Regions from separate parts of the Homo sapiens genome. Here regions 2 and 3 are each linked to region 1. The links are contacts of gene promoters, found by promoter capture Hi-C in blood cells and fetal thymus (Javierre and others, 2016). All regions are on one chromosome and are shown on one strand. The core of a region is centred on a gene start or on the middle of the fragment in contact, and the rest is flanking DNA. Distances in the headings are between cores, read along the strand shown.

What was found. Contacts are between HindIII fragments. The CHiCAGO score rates a contact against its expected background, and 5 or more counts as called.
Region 2: the fragment with the promoter of C15orf62 here is called in contact with the fragment with the promoter of BAHD1 in region 1 in 1 of 17 cell types (naive B cells); the score reaches 6.3 in naive B cells.
Region 3: a fragment that was not itself captured here is called in contact with the fragment with the promoter of BAHD1 in region 1 in 1 of 17 cell types (naive B cells); the score reaches 5.8 in naive B cells.

What each region holds. Positions count from the first base shown.
Region 1 is chr15:40,439,528-40,442,229 of GRCh38, reverse strand. It overlaps BAHD1 (bromo adjacent homology domain containing 1), which reads right to left and starts at 1,277. Exons shown (of 7, transcript NM_014952.5): 1 at 962-1,277. RefSeq lists silencers at 1-61, 782-841, 1,290-1,475, 902-1,571 and enhancers at 227-726, 727-1,228, 2,034-2,571. The HindIII fragment of the contact is 2,346 bases long and covers 1-1,798 here.
Region 2 is chr15:40,768,700-40,771,399 of GRCh38, reverse strand. C15orf62 (chromosome 15 open reading frame 62) reads right to left here and starts at 1,420. Exons shown (of 1, transcript NM_001130448.3): 1 at 1-1,420. The coding sequence starts at 904. The coding sequence ends at 377. All of the region lies in intron 10 of DNAJC17 (DnaJ heat shock protein family (Hsp40) member C17), which reads left to right. RefSeq lists enhancers at 287-903, 861-950, 904-1,522, 2,141-2,700. The HindIII fragment of the contact is 5,370 bases long and covers 1-2,700 here.
Region 3 is chr15:40,788,915-40,791,614 of GRCh38, reverse strand. All of the region lies in intron 1 of DNAJC17 (DnaJ heat shock protein family (Hsp40) member C17), which reads left to right. Among named protein-coding and RNA genes, the nearest start is that of ZFYVE19, 17 kb to the left of the region's middle. The HindIII fragment of the contact is 4,448 bases long and covers 1-2,700 here.

The DNA.
Region 1 (2,702 bases), core at 28-2,527:
CGACGCCACCACCTGCGCCCGCTCCGGCGCCGCCTTTGTCCGGCGCTTCACCGCCAAGCGAGCCCCTCGGGCCCGACCTGACCCGGCCCCCAGCCCCAGAAGAGAGGCGGCGGAGCGAGCAGGGCAAGACCAGGCCGGGCCGCGAGCACAGGGTCCCGCTGTCACTTGGAGGCGGTCTGACAACTTCGATTCCCCCCGCCACACCTCGGACTCGGCCGCCGCCCCGCAAGGTCCCCGCAGGGCCTCCCGCGGCCCACACTCGCTTTTCGAACCGGTCCCCTTCCGTCTTCGGCGCCTCCCTTCCTCTCAGCCCGATCGAGTCGGGTCTACACTACTCCCCCCTGCCGCCCCCGGCCCGGCGCGGCCCTCATCCCCTGCCCCCCATCCAGCAATAACCGGTCAGCTCCCAGCGCGGGAGGGCGCCCCCCACCCTGAGCGGGCGATCCCGCGGCGCCGCCCCCGGCCGCGGCCCCTTGCCTCGGGGACCGCGATGGGGGAGGGGGCGCGGCGGGGGCCTCGCCGCCCGCGCACTCGGAGGCGAGCCGGCTCCGCCGCGGCGAGGAAAGACCGGCGTCCTCCCGCCCTCCGCAGCTCGGGACGCCCGCGCCGCCGCCGCCCGGCCGAGCTGCCACCCTGCGGCCGCCACCCACCCCGCCCCCGGCCTGCAAGGCGGGCGGCCCCCGGGGGCTGTCACCTCGAGGCGCGCCGCGTTCCCCGATGGCGGGACCGTGGTGCCGGACCCAGGGGAGGGAGGTGGCGCGAGCGGGCGGGCGGCCGCACCTGCTTCGCGTCGTCCGTCCGTCCGTCCCTTCCCGGGCTGGCGGGGGCGGTGGCGCGGCGCGCTCGGTGGGGCGCGCTGACGGGCGGCCGGTGCTCTCCCCCTTCGCTCTTCTGCCTACCTCGCTCGCTCCCTCCCTCCAGCTCGCCCCTTCCCCCTCCTCGACCCCGGCCCCTGACTCACCAGAACGGGCGGCGCGGACGGCGCGGCTCTGGGCGCCCGCAGGCCCCGGCCGGGCTGGAATCCGGCGGCTGGAACCCCCCGGGGGCGCTCAATTCCCGGGCTCCACGCTGCTGCGTCAGCGCCTCCTCCTGGGGGCCGGGGCCGGGCGGGCGGAGCGGGGACCGCGGCCGGGCGGGGCCGTCGGGGGGGGCGGGCGCGCCTGGCCGGGGCGGGCGGACGGCGGGGGCCGGACGGGCGGGGCAGGCAGCCGGACGGGCGGGCGGCGGGGGCCGGGCTCCGGGATCCGCTACGCCGCTCGCGGTTCCCCCACAAACTCCCCGAGAGCGGAGCCTCCGCCGCCCTCCTTCCTGCTTCCTCGTCCCCAGCCAATCAGCAGCGCGCCCCTCGGCCAGCTCCGCCAATCAGCCGCCCCGCCCTGCGCTGGCTCCGCCAGCCAATCCGGCCCTCGGCTCCCCCTCCCGGTCTCTGACCAATCAGAACCGTGGGTCGGTCGTCCCAACGCAGGGGGCAGCACGAGGCGGCCGGGGGAGGCGGTGCGGGGAGTGGTGGGGCCTTGGGGGAGGGGTGCCGTGCCAAGGGTGGTGGCAAGGGGTGATTTTCTTTGCCGGCTTCTTGGATTTTTCTCTTCGTCTTCAGAACCTGAGCCCGTATCCCACGGTGACTCGACCCCAATCTCCCAGCTGCTAGCCCCCCCGGAAAAATCTTATCTCCCCCCGCCCTGGCCATCACCCCTCCGCATCCCCTTTCCCCCAAATCCTCCCCAGCACGCGCTGGAGAAAACTGCGGGCCGAGGAACACCCCATCCTCGCCGGAGGCTGCTGCCCCCAGGGCAAAGCTTCAGGAAGACCAGCCGAAAATCAAGCGAGAACAACCCCCCTTTCCTGCAGAAAGGGCCCCAGACTCCTGCAAAAGGGCCCCGACTGCTGAGAAGCCCCTCCCGCCCTTGCCTCATCTTTCCGACTTCCCTGCCTGCCACGTCTCCTTTCCTTTCCAGCAAGGTCGGTCCTGGCTCGGTAACCCCTCACCCGCATCTCTTTTTCCTCTTTCTGCCCTTCACCTACCGCCCCCAACCCCAGCTCCTAATTCACCCTCTTCAGAAGCAGAGTGTGGAGCCCTCATCCATTTCCAGCTGACAGCAGAGCCTGGTCTGTGAGTCCTTGACACCCACACACCCTCTTCCACCACCGCGGGGAACATCAGAGCTCTCCGGGGGAGGGAGAAAGGGGCGGGCAGCCTGACAGGAGCGGCTGGACTCCCTCCCTCGCGTCCCCAAGCTACGGGAGAACCAAGTGTAGACACTTACCTGGCTTCCCCCTAGTCACCAAATGCTGTGGCTCCGTCTCTCACCCCCACAGACGTGCCCTCCCAAGCCCGAGCACGCTCGCGGGGTCAGTGGGGTGGGTGGGCACAGCAGGCTAAGGGCACAGAGAGAGATGGGAAGTCCCTGTTAGGTGCGGGAAGGAGCTGTGTCTTGGGCACCTGGTGGTGCCAGAGCCCGCCTAGGACTTCACTAAGCCCGGGATATGCACACAGTAGGTTCTCGAGAAATGCTGAGTTCACCCCTGAACAAAGCCTCATTCCCAATTCAGGCGGGGGAGGGGAGCTTTAGGAGGTAAAAGGAGCAGCGGCAGAAAGGGTAGTGTCAAGTCACCAGAGCGCTGGAGCAGCCCAGGGAGGGGCTGGGCCCCAGGAACGCCTTGGGCAGAGAGAGGCACCCAGAGTGCTGAGGCTGCCCAGGCAA
Region 2 (2,700 bases), core at 171-2,670, 330 kb before region 1:
ATCTGACCCCGTGCCACCTTCTGGCTCTGCCAGCCTCTACCTGGTTCCTGTAGTGCCGCACAGAGCCTCCCTTTCCCGGCACAGCCTCCCTTTCCCGGCATAGCCAGCTTTCTTCAGGGTCCTGCCAGGAAGGGCCGCCCCCCCAACATTTCCAGATTGCCTCTGTCCCTCCACTCTGGGGTGCCTGGAAGGACTGTCCAGGACCCAGAGAGCAGGCAGAGCCCTGGATTCCTATCCTGGAATCCTCCCCCAGGATGAAGAAGCTCTGCCTGCCTGAACCCTCCAGCGATGGGCCTGGAGTCCTGTCCCTGTCCTTTCCTTAATCCCCAGCCTCTGGATCTTCCAGTCACCCCGGCTTTGCCCACCCTCACCCCATTTAGAAGCTGGGCTCGCTAGGAAACTGCTCCCTTAGCATCTGCAGAACTTCCTCAAGAAGTGAAATCCCCAGGTCCACTTTGAAGGAGAGGAAGGGATCACTGAGGTCTGGGGTAGGTGTCCTCTGGAAGCAGGGAGTGTCCACAAGGCCCTTCTCTGAGTGCTGGTGGAGGGCACTCGACAGAGAGAGCGCCGATGGCAGGGTGGCAGAGTAGGCTGCTGTGTAGGCAGGTGGGGGCTCCAGGATGTTGGGGCAGCTTGAGCTCTCTCGGTAGAGGCGTGGGGGCTTGGGTGGGGCCAGCAGGGTGGCCCGGGGCTGCTCGTCCCCCCACAGTGGCAGGCGCCGGCCATCTGGCCTCCCTTGTAGCTCCCGGATGACTTCTCGGTTGCTGTACTCCTCGTGGTCCCCACCTGCTGTGCTGGCCTGGCTAAGCACACTACTCTGTCGCCGGAGCCGCCGTGGCCGCCCCAGGCTCAGCTGCTTGAAGAAGGAGGCGTTGCGGAAGGAGCCTTTCCGCCAGGTCTCCATGGGGCCCAGGGGAGCCAGCAGACAGGTGTTCAGGAGCAGCCAGGGTGCATGTGGTCCCTGCTGGGGCAGTGAGTGCCAGCAGCTGGGGAGGCTCCCCTAGGAGCAGAGGCCTCAGGGTTTCCACTCAGCACAGACCTTTGACCACATCTTGGATGGTGAGAGGAGGGCTCAGGAAGAAGGAACTTTTTTGCCCAGGAGAGCAGACAGCTGGGAGTTCCTGGCAGCAAGAGTTTCCCACAGGGACAGGAGTGGCCTGGTTACTGAATAGGGTAGTGGAAAAAAACCCAGGAGGAAGAAGCAGCACTTACTGGAGCCAGAATGAGGGCAGCTCCGGCGGAGGCAGAGGTGGACCTTCTCGGGCTGGGTGAGGCTGGCGAGCGCTCCTTCCACAGGCAGGCAGCAGATGGCCCGAGCTCACTCGCCCTGGTGTTTGCCTGGCTCCTATATGTCTCTGGGGCAGTGTGGGGCCGTGCCCTCTCTGCCAGTGGCTCCCGGACTCTGATGAGTGGCCTGGCTGTTTGTGGCGGTGGAGATGTGTTTTTGTTCTCAGCTGACTCAGTCAGGTGGGAAGCCAGGTTTCGTGCTCTTGGGTAATTGCAGCATCCGCGTGCAGGGATGGGGCAGCTGGGACCAACACCCCAGGGCAATGGGGAGCTTAAGATTCCTCTGGGGACTCGTGTGGGGGCAGCCCTGCTTTATGTGTCACCACGCGGCTTCCTTTCTGATCACAGCCCCACCACCCTGGGCCCCCAGCAGGTGCGCCTGGCTCCCTGCCCACAGTGTCTGGGTAGGAAGAGTTCGGGGCGGGTGGGAGTTAATTGAAAGGCAGGCGTGTGGAACGATTGTTGGGGAAGGAAGAGACCTGTAGCTGGTATGGGTGACTCAGCCCCGCTGTCAGGCCCTCACGAGCAGGAACAGGAAGGGGGGCAGAGGGTGTGTTAATGGGGAGCAGCGCCATGCCTGTGATGGGCGGGCTCTGCTGCCCAGGGTTGGGCTGGGGGCCCGCCAAGGGTGGCTCCAAGTTTTCTTGGCAGAGCAGCATTAACCTGGGGATGGGAGATGTGGCCTCCTCTTGGCCTGCCATCAGCCTGGCTGCTATTTCCTTGTCCTCCCTTGTTTTACCCTAGAGGGCTCCTGCCAGGAGAGCGGCTGCTGAAGGCCGGGCCGTGTTGCCTCCTACCTGGCTGTGCTCCAGCCCTTCCCCTCTGGCTACCGGGCTTCCTCTGGGGTCCTCCTTCTCTTGCAGGAGGCTGGGCCAGGGAGGCTGCCGTGAATTGTCAGCCGTGCTCTGGGCCAGGCTTAGCAGTCCGGCCTAGCTGGGACTGCTGCAGCCGGGGAGAGGGGAGGGGTGCAGCCATCGGGAGGAACAGGGGAACCCAGGCTGAGTAACACTTCCTGTTTCTCTACACCCCTTACTCCAAACCTGCTGGCCAGGGCCTGGCATCTCAACCCTAGCTGCTCCCTTCCTATTCCCCGGGTCACTGACCACCACATTTTCCTCCTGCCTTGCTCTGTGACAGCGTCCCCATGCGGGGTACCGCGGATCAGGGCCCCACAGCTCTCTGCTACGGGCAGGCCACCGCATCTTGCAATCCCTGGCCTAGCTCACTTCTGTGCCAACTCAGGTGTGCTTCACACTTCTCTGAGAAGCTGTTGGGACCACATGATCATCACACAGCCTAAGCGGCACCGAGGGAGGAAAAGGTTTAATTCCCACCGCAGACCTTATCAGGGCGTGGGTTGGCAGCTTAGGTCCCGCTGTAGAGCTGCTTCTCCACCCTACAGCCTTGGCCCAT
Region 3 (2,700 bases), core at 201-2,700, 350 kb before region 1:
CCTCAGCCTCCCAAAGTGCTGGGATTACAGGTGTGAGCCACTGCGACCAGCTGCCTGTTGTTTTTTATTTTATTTTATTTTAGTTTTTTGAGATGGAGTCACTCTGTCACCCTGGCTGGTGTGCAGTGGTGCGATCTTGGCTCACTGCAACCTCCCCCTCCCAGGTTCAAGCAATTCTTCTCCCTCAGCCTCCCGAGTAGCTGGGTCTACAGGCACACGCCACCATACCCAGTTAATTTTTGTATTTTTAGTAGAGATGGGGTTTCACCATGTTGGCCAGGCTGGTCTCAAAACTTCTCACCTCAGGTGATCGCCTGCCTTGGCCTCCCAAAGTGCTGAGATTACAGTCATGAGCCACCGCACCCAGCTTTTTAAAATTTTTTTTGTAGCCTCAATATATTACCACATTATTTATTTGTTTATTTATTTATTATGGTTTTTTAGAGGCAGGGTCTCCCTACATTGTCCAGGCTGATCTCAAACTCCTGGGCTCAAGGGATCCTCCCACCTTGGCCTCCAAAAGTGCTAGGATTACAGGCATGAGTCACCGCACCCGGCCTATTTTTTTTTATTTATTTTAAGTTATTTTTTCCAAGCCTGGTTTCACTTGAAGATAGTTGTTCTTCACCAAGGGCCTGACCAGCTCTGGGTGGATCTAGCAGCTGGTCTCTAAGTCCTCTCAGTATCTCCAAGTCCCCTCAGTATCACTCTTCACCAAAGCTGTCTGGCTGAAGCTCTGGATTTTTGAAGTTACTTAGGTGCCTGTTAAGTCAAAAGGAATGATTCATTTGTGTTTGTAAGCTGTAAGCGATTCATTAACATTCAAGATAATACCTCACATTTCTATGACACCAAAGTGCTTTCACATAAATTATCTCATTTGATGAGACCTTGAAAGCAAGCCTGTGAGGTGGTCAAGGACTACTGGCACCAATTCCTAGATGTGGAAACAAAGACTCCAAGAATTTAAGTGATTCGCCCAGCATAAGGTGGCTGGTACTGCCACCTTATTTTATTTTTATTTTATTTTTATTTGGAAAGAGAGTCTCGCTGTGTCGCCCAGGCTGGAGTGCAGTGGCACGATCTTGGCTCACTGCAACCTCCGCCTCCTGGGTTCAAGTGATTCTCATACCTCAGCTTCCCAAGTAGCTGGGATTACAGGCATGTGATGCGCCACCATGCCCAGCTGATTTTTATATTTTTAGTAGAGACGGGGTTTCACCATGTTGGCCAGGCTGATCTCAAACTCCTGACCTCAAGTGATCCACCCGCCTCAGCCTCCCAAAGTGTTTGTATTACAGGCGTGAGCCTCTGCGCCCGGCCCACACCTGAATTTTCTACTCCTCTTTGAGAACTTTTTCCGTGACCCACACTTCAGGACCAATTAGAGCAACAGGAGACGGGTCTGTGGGCCCCAGAGAGTCTCGCAGCCCCATCTGTAACACAGATAGAGATTTTACCTGCCTGGGACTTGGGTAAACCCAGCAGGTAGTAAGCTGCTCTGAACAGCTTAAGGAACTGTGTTAAGATTTGTGTTAAAACTACCATAGCACAGTTTCCATTTCCTTGAAGTTAGTGGCATTCAAAATGTTTTCCATTTGCATAGCGCTTTCCCTATTTTTGCTGTTCGTAAGTATTGTTATTTAGTTATTTTCACTAAATCAACTCATTTCTTTTCTTTTCTTTTTTTTTTTTTTTTTTTTTTTTTTTTGAGACAGTCTGTCTCTGTCTCCCAGGCTGGAGTGCAGTGGCGCAATCTCGGCTCACTGCAAGATGCGCCTCCCGGGTTCACGCCATTCTCCTGCCTCAGACTTCCGAAATCAACTAATTTCTTTTTACTAATACAAATTTGTTTATAAAGGAAACAATGCATTAAGGGAAGACAGAAATGAATGAGGTGTAGGAAGTACCAGGGCCCAGAGGGAAGGAGTTCTACCCCCTGGGAAAGGGCAGAGACTGGGCAGAGGAAGTGGTTCTGGGGCTAGAGACCCAGGCCTCTAGGAGTTAAGAGTGACAGCAGGCAGTGGGGAGACGTTTCTGGCAGATCTGGGCATGAGAATCTACAAGCTGAGAGAAGGTAGGAAAGGCTTTTGGGGTCTGAGCCTAATATAGCGGTGGTTAGGATAAGGTTAAAAGGGAGGAGGTGGGCCAGAGAGCAGGGTGGTATCTGAGGAGGAGAAAGAGGGCTGTAGACTGGGTTTCAAGTGGGCTGGTTTGGGGAAGTGGACCGAGGAGAGCAGGATAGGAGGGAGTACTGTGGGGGAGTGAAGGAAGGGGGACCTGGAGATGAGATCCGGGGGGATGGGAGGAGCTAAAGAGTGGCCTCAGGATTGGCTGAGGAACCAGAGCCCAAAGGGCGTACAAGGGCCATCATTTGGGGAGAAGCAGGCCAGGCTCCGTGTGTGGTCCCAGCTGTTCTAGGTGGCACAGGCCCCTGTTCTGAGACTGAACCATGGGCCATGGCTATCAGCCTGAGAGGGATGTCAGTGTGAGGCCCAGGTTCTCTGGTATTATCTTGGTACCACCAGCAGGCCCATGTTTTGGGAGCATTGAGCTGAGGGGGCTGTCTGGGGTTGGCCAGCTCTCTGCTTGTGCCAAGCCTTGGGAGCAGCCCATAGGTTGTACAGTGCCCAGGCATTTGGGGACTTCTCTGTAGTGCTGTCCCAATAGGGGTCACAGGCTGTAAGGAATGAAAGGATC